Regions from separate parts of the Homo sapiens genome. Here regions 2 and 3 are each linked to region 1. The links are contacts of gene promoters, found by promoter capture Hi-C in blood cells and fetal thymus (Javierre and others, 2016). All regions are on one chromosome and are shown on one strand. Each heading gives the region's core, a stretch centred on a gene start or on the middle of the fragment in contact. The rest is flanking DNA. Distances are from core to core; before and after follow the strand shown. Region 1 holds the start of OR52I1 (olfactory receptor family 52 subfamily I member 1). Region 2 overlaps LOC101927825 (a long non-coding RNA gene). Region 3 holds the start of OR52N4 (olfactory receptor family 52 subfamily N member 4).

What was found. The method cuts DNA at HindIII sites, captures the fragments that hold promoters and counts their contacts. A CHiCAGO score of 5 or more calls a contact.
Region 2: a contact is called between a fragment that was not itself captured here and the fragment with the promoter of OR52I1 in region 1, in 1 of 17 cell types (naive CD8 T cells). The highest score is 5.4, in naive CD8 T cells.
Region 3: the fragment with the promoter of OR52N4 here is called in contact with the fragment with the promoter of OR52I1 in region 1 in 1 of 17 cell types (naive CD8 T cells); the score reaches 5.0 in naive CD8 T cells.

The regions. Positions count from the first base shown.
Region 1 is chr11:4,592,597-4,595,703 of GRCh38, forward strand. OR52I1 (olfactory receptor family 52 subfamily I member 1) reads left to right here and starts at 1,443. Exons shown (of 1, transcript NM_001005169.1): 1 at 1,443-2,417. The coding sequence starts at 1,443. The coding sequence ends at 2,417. It overlaps OR52I2 (olfactory receptor family 52 subfamily I member 2), which reads left to right. Exons shown (of 2, transcript NM_001405760.1): 2 at 1-744. The HindIII fragment of the contact is 4,139 bases long and covers 565-3,107 here.
Region 2 is chr11:6,342,570-6,345,676 of GRCh38, forward strand. LOC101927825 (a long non-coding RNA gene) reads left to right here. Exons shown (of 7, transcript XR_930998.4): 7 at 1,847-3,107. Among named protein-coding and RNA genes, the nearest start is that of CAVIN3, 24 kb to the left of the region's middle. The HindIII fragment of the contact is 3,393 bases long and covers 1-3,107 here.
Region 3 is chr11:5,752,458-5,755,564 of GRCh38, forward strand. OR52N4 (olfactory receptor family 52 subfamily N member 4) reads left to right here and starts at 1,786. Exons shown (of 2, transcript NM_001005175.5): 1 at 1,786-1,848; 2 at 2,236-3,107. The coding sequence starts at 2,284. The HindIII fragment of the contact is 4,248 bases long and covers 1,713-3,107 here.

The DNA.
Region 1 (3,107 bases), core at 193-2,692:
CCTATGACCAAACACCATATGAATATGAAATCATGGAAACCAATCATCCTAAGGAGAGAGTAACTAAACAGCTATCACACAGGAATAGAATGGTAGTTAATGCTGACTTCTTTATATTCAGGTTTCCCCACTTAGATTGTTACATATTATATGATATGGTAACACCTGAATGAGGCAATGGAGGGTGAATACATCAATAAACAGAGATGAACAAGTGGTAGAGCTCAGCTGCTGGCTGTGCACAGCAGTAGCTATCTTTGTCTCATCAAACGTGGCCAAGTGAAACCCCTAACCTTGTTTTATCCATAGTTGTCTTGTTGACTATTTATGTTGGGCTGGATGGACACCTGGGAGTCATAGCTTAAACCCAAAACTTACCACACACGTACTACATGATCTTGGCTAGAATATTTAATCTAAGTTATACAAACTGTGTTGTATGGAATGGATGTTTGTCTTATATTACAAATGGAGAAATACACTCAGATTATGAATACTACACTTTTAACATAGTACTGGCACATACTGTGTTAATAATAAAGTGCTTAACTTTCTAAAGGATAAAGCTTTCTTGTTTGGAACATCTTGGTTATCAGGAAGAGGGAGTTAGTTGTATTAAAGAACCATAACAACTTATTGGGGAGGGGGGGTCATCTATAAGGTAACCCTAAGATTTTCCTTGTAGTAATTTAATCTATTAACTGAACCAAAGTGAATAGGATCCAGGGTAAATTTAGAGAAGGTAAGGATTATATTTATTTATAGATAATTTATAATCACCTGTAAAATGTGATAATGTTATTCTCTAATGGTTTTATTTTACTGAACTTACTAACGTACTTCATGAATCACAAGAATGCTGAATTTATGTTTTGTCTATGCAATATGCTGAGCATATAAAATGTGATGTTTGTTTTCAAGAAGTTCTGGTTTCAACATTTAGTAACAGCACACAGAGATAAGTCATTCTTTCCTCTGTTAATCGTTCTTTCTGTGGAAATTGTTTACTGTAATGAGTATATATATCTTCACTCAAGTGACTTGTGACCACAGCTATGGATCACAATCTTCCTATAAGGCACTTGAGTGAATACCATAAACTCATACAGTACTGGAATTGTCGATTTAGTCCCTACAGGAGATTTCAGGAAACTGCAAAAGAGGTAATTAACTTAACCTGGGCATGGGGTTGGGTGAGGAAGAGAGCAGAACACAAGTCCCTAAGGAAGGAATTCACGAGCTGATCCTTCAACAATGAATAGAAACTTGTAAGGAGGATGAAAAGTAGCACAGTATTAGAAGTCATTTTTCTGATCCTGCCATACCACCAAGCTGAGAATATCCCTAGGTTTTCCCAGCACCACAAAGAGGAACTAATCTTATAGGACTGCACCATTCTCTTACATCATCTATACATTAATAGGCAAGAAGTCTCACCTGTGATGCTGGGTCCAGCTTACAACCACACAATGGAAACCCCTGCCTCCTTCCTCCTTGTGGGTATCCCAGGACTGCAATCTTCACATCTTTGGCTGGCTATCTCACTGAGTGCCATGTACATCACAGCCCTGTTAGGAAACACCCTCATCGTGACTGCAATCTGGATGGATTCCACTCGGCATGAGCCCATGTATTGCTTTCTGTGTGTTCTGGCTGCTGTGGACATTGTTATGGCCTCCTCCGTGGTACCCAAGATGGTGAGCATCTTCTGCTCGGGAGACAGCTCCATCAGCTTTAGTGCTTGTTTCACTCAGATGTTTTTTGTCCACTTAGCCACAGCTGTGGAGACGGGGCTGCTGCTGACCATGGCTTTTGACCGCTATGTAGCCATCTGCAAGCCTCTACACTACAAGAGAATTCTCACGCCTCAAGTGATGCTGGGAATGAGTATGGCCGTCACCATCAGAGCTGTCACATTCATGACTCCACTGAGTTGGATGATGAATCATCTACCTTTCTGTGGCTCCAATGTGGTTGTCCACTCCTACTGTAAGCACATAGCTTTGGCCAGGTTAGCATGTGCTGACCCCGTGCCCAGCAGTCTCTACAGTCTGATTGGTTCCTCTCTTATGGTGGGCTCTGATGTGGCCTTCATTGCTGCCTCCTATATCTTAATTCTCAGGGCAGTATTTGATCTCTCCTCAAAGACTGCTCAGTTGAAAGCATTAAGCACATGTGGCTCCCATGTGGGGGTTATGGCTTTGTACTATCTACCTGGGATGGCATCCATCTATGCGGCCTGGTTGGGGCAGGATATAGTGCCCTTGCACACCCAAGTGCTGCTAGCTGACCTGTACGTGATCATCCCAGCCACTTTAAATCCCATCATCTATGGCATGAGGACCAAACAATTGCTGGAGGGAATATGGAGTTATCTGATGCACTTCCTCTTTGACCACTCCAACCTGGGTTCATGAACACAATATCTGTTCAGATCCAGAGCATTCTAGCCAACTTCAAAGATGCCTCAGAGATCTGTGGAGCTGGATTGGTTTACCTGGTACTATAAGGAAATCTGAGATGAAGCTATAAAGGATATCTTTGTGTAACTTTTAAATTTCTACCAATAATATGAATGAAATGTTTCTAATTTTCTGACATTTTTAATGGGTTAATATGATAGTGTCTGAATCAGAGTAAGTTTGGTATAGAATACAGCTCTGTAATTTTTCCTTCTATAGCTTCTGACCTATATTTCCTACCTAATATCCTACCATCCCCTCTGCTGAAGAGACCAACTGTTTGGTATCTTCCCCTTAACCTGACTGATATTCTCAGAACTGTTCTTTCCTCCAAGTGATTACATGGAAGAAGCTATTAATATATGACCCTGCCCTCTGGCCCAATAGTGATCTCACTCCATTTGGGTCCTAATGCCCACACCTAGACCAGGGTCCTTCCCAAGCTGTATGGTCTACTGTTCATCTGGGGAGATATAAACTTGGGATCAGAGATGGTGGTAATTCTACAACACATAAACTGGAAGGAGAAAATTGGGATTGGCCCATGCATCAAAAGCCAATCACCAAGAACGGATGAAGAGAATAAGTCCTTGGTTCTCTGATTCCAAATCACTTTGGACACCCAGGTATATTGTTATGTTCTGT
Region 2 (3,107 bases), core at 358-2,857, 1.8 Mb after region 1:
TCCTTGAAGCTGAGCTTTCTGAGGCTACTTATACATGTTGTGATAATAGCCATCCCAATTCAGCTCATGTGCCTACCATCAAATCCATCAAATGATTGCAGTCATTGTGCTGTATTTAACTTTTTTTTTTTTTTTTTTTTTTTGAGATGGAGTGTCACTCTTGTCACCCAGGCTGGAGTGTAATGGTGTGATCTTGGCTGACTGCAACCTCCACCTCCTGGGTTCAAGCGATTCTCTTGCCTCAGCCTCCTGAGTAGCGGGGATTACAGGCACCCACCACCACGCCCAGCTAATTTTTGAATTTTTAGTAGAGACGGGGTTTCACCATGTTGGCCAGGCTGGACTCGAACTCCTGACCTCAGGTGATCCACCTGCCTCGGCCTACCAAAGTACTGGGATTACAGGTGTGAGCCACCATGCCTGGCCTCATAGTTTAATTCCTTGAGCAATAAAGAGAGGGAGCATCTAACTGGTAGCCTTGGGTCAGATCTAATCAGCTGTTGCCCAGGGGTAATGAAATGAGATGAAAGTCGGTTATGGCCCACTCTTACAGGATCTGTGGTCCAGGTAGGTACAGAAGTTTATCTAATCAAAGTAGCTAGCCTATTTATTCTCAGTGGTTGTTGGAGGATTTCAGGGCACTGATATCCCAATTTCTTGTTCTAGTTCTCAACGAACTGGGAAATAAAGTAAAAGAATAAGGTAATAAGAGGCCGGGCATGGTGACTCACACCTGTAATCCCAGCACTTTGGGAGGCCGAGGCAGGCAGATCGCCTGAGGTCAGGAGTTCGAGACCAGCCTGGCCAACATAGCAAAACCCCATCTTTACTAAAAATACAAAAATTAGCCAGGCGTGGTGGCAGGCACCTGTGATCCCAGCTATTCAGGAGACTGAGGGAGGAGAATCGCTTGAACCCGGGAGGTGGAGGTTGCAGTGAGCCGAGATCATCCACTGCACTCCAGCTTGGGTAACAGAGCAAGACTGTCTCAAAAAAAAAAAAAAAAACAAGGTAATAAGAGATCAAAACCACAGTATTACTGATAAAATTCACATTGGCAAATGTGGCTTTATCATTTAGCAAATGGGTCCCTTGATTCTGAACACCAGAATTAGGGAGACTAACCCACCCACTCACAGATGGTATACAAAAATTATAGCTTCCCCCTTGATTTATATAGAGGAATCAATATTGACCATGAGTTTATTATTGTTAAAGTGGGTAATGGGTACGTGAATCTTTATACTATTATCTCTCCTATTTAAGTACTCTGCATTTAATAACTTTTTGGAGTAAATCTAATCGTGCAGTTATATCTTCCCCCAACGCTCTGAGAGAGAGATATCAGAAACATTCTCTTCTTTTTGCAAAGTGTAGAAATTTGCAATGATGCCACCTCAGTCATTAGGCCTTATTGAAGGGATTTTTTAATTTCCATCCAGCCTGCTCAAATTTTCCTATACAGTTCAATACACTGATTGAGGCCAGGCGCGGTGGCTCACACCTGTAATCCCAGCACTTCGGGAGGCCAGACGGGTGGATCACGAGGTCAGGAGATCGAGAACATCCTGGCTAACATGGTGAAACCCCATCTCTACTAAAAATACAAAAAATTATCCGGGTGTGGTGGTGGGCACCTGTAGTCCCAGCTACTCGGGAGGCTGAGGCAGGAGAATGGCGAGAACCCGGGAGGCAGAGCTTGCAGTGAGCCGAGATCGAGCCACTGCACTCCAGCCTGGGCGACAGAGCAAGACTCCATCTCCCAAAAAAAAAAAAAAAATACACTGATTGAGCCCCAAGCTCTGGCATCCCAGTGTACCCCAAGTGCATGCCTGTTGTGTTGCAGCTTCCAAGACTATAGCGCTCTGATGCATTGAGATGACAGCAAGCGGCATTTTTCAGTCCTGTTACCCATATGGCTGCTACCACTGCATCCTGTTAAATAATGTCTTCAACCCAAGAAACCTGCTTCCTAGGGAAGTTTCTCTCTCTCTGCATTTGTTCCCACTAGAGAATGACCATCACCAGATTCCTGAACTGAAAATGCTGTTGACACTTTGGAAACTCGGGCCTCTATTAATAGGGTGACCAACTATCCTGGTTTACCTTGAGTACAGGATTTTCAATGCTAAAACCAGAAAAACCAGGATGGTTGGTCATCTGCCTCAGACCTAATAAATACCAGTCAATAATTCAGCCATGAGCTTTCTTAAGACACTGTCTTTTCTTGACTGTTGAATAGTCTAGGACTTGAGTAGCAGCTCTTTCTGCTACTGGACACTTGTTTTACTACCCTATTTCTCTAGATTTTATTTTGTGGCTAATAATTAAGACATAAAATCATGGGTTCTGGTTATGCCAAAGCACTCACTCTTCAAAAGTTTCCATCCAGAGTTGGATAATCCCACACAGAAGGTGTTCTTTCAACAGACCAGCATCCAATAGACCCAATGCAGCATTTTTCTTCCTGGTTCCACATTAATACATCCTATCTCTGCTATGCTTAGGTCCCTGATTTATAAATATTTCAGACATATTTTCTCAGGACACAGGGAGTACTTAAACTTCCACATAGCAGAGATACGACATACAATAAGCTGTTATCTGGAAACTCCTAGTGATGCTTTGAGTACTTTACAGTAATCTTTCTGGTCTTCCTCTCAACCCCATTAAGTTTTTCTGTAACTAGCTGGTGTATCTGTCTCCATCTTTAAGGAATAAGTCCCTATTTGCTCATGCTATAATCTCCCTCATGCTCTCCGTCCCTCCTTCCCTCTCCTTCTCTCTTTCTGTCTCTCTCTCTCTCCACCCTGATTGTGAGATGCTACACCTTAATAGTTTTCTATACCTAGATCCCTTTTGAAGGAGTAATTTCAGCCATCACTGAAATCTATGCTTTTTTATCTTGTTAGATTTATTTAGGACCTAATGACTGTTTCTGAGCTAATAATAACGCAATCAGCTCATATTTTTCTGATACTCTAAGAGCAATTACATCTAGTTGCATCACCTTTTCCTTTTTTATTCATGTATCTTAGGCTTCTCAAGATATGAGACTAGCACTTGAGCCTGAGATAAGCCTTAAGAATTCCAGGATAGTCTCTCCA
Region 3 (3,107 bases), core at 536-3,035, 1.2 Mb after region 1:
TGATGGGGCACAAAAGAGAGTTCATTTGGTGGCACTCATGATTCCTATGGTGTTAATTTTTGTAAGCATTGCCAAAATGGCTGCCAGCCTGAGTAGAAAATACAAATATGGGTATTGAGCACTTAAAATGTGGTAGCATGTTTTAACATATTACGTCCTTTAATCCTCTTGGCAATTTAATTTTTGTTATTATAAATTCTAACATACATATGCAATTTTACAATTAATCCAATTACATGTTGATTGATTTTTACAACCTGAATCTTGTATATCTCACAACCAAATCAAGTAAGGGAATATGACCAGCAACTAACAGGACCCTTCTACCACATACTGCCTTTCAGTTATCACTCTCTCTCACTTTTTAAAAAGATTTTTCTATTTCTAATAGCACAGAATAATTTGATCCGTTTTTGTATTTCATTTAAAGATCACAAGATGTTACATCTATTTTAAGTCTTTCTAAAAAAAATTAACACATATTGTGAGATTCGTCTATATTATGCATATAGTCATAGATTGTTTATTCTTATTGTTACGTGGTATTTCATTGTGGGAATGTACCAAAATTTATTTACCCATTTGATGTTGATGAACATTTAGGTTTTTTCCAGTTTTAGGCTATACTACAAATCATGTTTCAATAAGCATTCTAATTGATGTATTCTAGTAAATATATATACATAGTTTTGTTGGAAATGGCAATGGTGGTCATGTGTATGTTTATCATTATGAGATATCTAATAAAGAGTTGTTCTAATTTACATGTCTACCAGCAGTAAATGAGAGTTCCAGTTGTTCTACATCTTTGCCAATGCTTGGTATTTTTAGTTCTTTTCATTTTAGCTGTCCTGTTTGGTATGTCACTACATACCAAAAAAAGGTGCTTTGTCATGAGAGATACAATTTTTACTTATTTTTCTGATTAATATAAAAGTTTGTGCCTATTTACCTGTTCATTGGCAATTTTATTTCTCTTTTGAAGTGTATGTTTCTTCCTGCAACTTTTTCTTACTGATGTTGTTGAAGTACTTTATATATTTTCTGTATGTATGCATTTGGATATCTTCTAGTTTGCGTTGACTAGATACATAAAGAACAAGAAAGATATCTTGAAAAGTGAAAAAATTGAATCAAAACTTCATTGACTTTTTTAATTTTAAATTTTTGTGGGCACATAGTAGGTGTATATATTTATGGGTGTATGAGATATTTTGATAGAAGCATACAATGTGTAATAATCCCTTTTAAAGGGCCGGGCACAGTGGCTCATGCCTGTAATCCCAGCACTTTGGGAGCCTGATGTGGGTGGATTACCTGAGGTCAGGAGTTGGAGACCAACCTGACCAATATAGTGAAACCCCATCTCTGCTAAAAATACAAAAATTAGCTGGGCGTGGTGGCATGTGCCTGTAGTCGCAGCTACTCGGGAGGCTAAGACAGGAGAATTGCTTGAATCCGGGAGGTGGAGGTTGCAGCCAAGATTGCGCCACTGCACTCCAGCCTGGGCAACAAAGCAAGACTCTGCCTCAAAAAAAAAAAAAAAAAAAAAAAAAAATCCCAGTAAAGTAAATAGGGGTATCCATCATCTCAAACATTTATCCTTTGTGTTACAGACAACCCAATTATATTATTTTAGTTATTTTAAAATATACAATTAAATTATTATTGAGTATAGACACCCAATAAATTTACTAATTTTTGAGACCCCAAGCTTCATTGAGTAATAATTTAATTAAAATTTCAAAATTCTTTGAACAGTGCCTGAGTACCCAAGAATAAATATCAGTCAGTCATTAAGAATAAAAATTAAAAAGTCAACATCTCATCTCTCAGATCATCAGTGAGGTAATCAAATGACTCTTCTTTAAAATTATATCTATATTGAGATGAGTATAGTTATAGTTAAGTAAGATATTCTAATAAAAATACCATTTGAAAAGTCAGAATTATACTTGATTATAAATCTATGAGATTGGGAATATGTCTTTTTATAAAATAATTGATGTTTGATTGGCATCTGTGTTGAAAACTTAGACTGCTCAATAAGAATTTTTTACTGAATCAATTAATTAATCAATCAATAAAACTAAACAGACAAACAAAATTATTTCTTGGCACTCAGAAATTTGGTTGTTGGACCATTAAAATGCATTATGGAATTTTTAAAAGTTGGGGGAGAGGGAGACAGTAAAAATAACCTATATTTTCTCTTGTTTTTTTTTTTAACTCTAGGAAAGCCCAGACAAATTTTGAGCTATTTCATAACCTACCAGACTTATCATGCTAACACTGAATAAAACAGACCTAATACCAGCTTCATTTATTCTGAATGGAGTCCCAGGACTGGAAGACACACAACTCTGGATTTCCTTCCCATTCTGCTCTATGTATGTTGTGGCTATGGTAGGGAATTGTGGACTCCTCTACCTCATTCACTATGAGGATGCCCTGCACAAACCCATGTACTACTTCTTGGCCATGCTTTCCTTTACTGACCTTGTTATGTGCTCTAGTACAATCCCTAAAGCCCTCTGCATCTTCTGGTTTCATCTCAAGGACATTGGATTTGATGAATGCCTTGTCCAGATGTTCTTCACCCACACCTTCACAGGGATGGAGTCTGGGGTGCTTATGCTTATGGCCCTGGATCGCTATGTGGCCATCTGCTACCCCTTACGCTATTCAACTATCCTCACCAATCCTGTAATTGCAAAGGTTGGGACTGCCACCTTCCTGAGAGGGGTATTACTCATTATTCCCTTTACTTTCCTCACCAAGCTCCTGCCCTACTGCAGAGGCAATATACTTCCCCATACCTACTGTGACCACATGTCTGTAGCCAAATTGTCCTGTGGTAATGTCAAGGTCAATGCCATCTATGGTCTGATGGTTGCCCTCCTGATTTGGGGCTTTGACATACTGTGTATCACCAACTCCTATACCATGATTCTCCGGGCAGTGGTCAGCCTCTCCTCAGCAGATGCTCGGCAGAAGGCCTTTAATACCTGCACTGCCCACATTTGTGCCATTGTTTTCTCCTATACTCCAGCTTTCTTCTCCTTCTTTTCCCACCGCTTTGGGGAACACATAATCCCCCCTTCTTG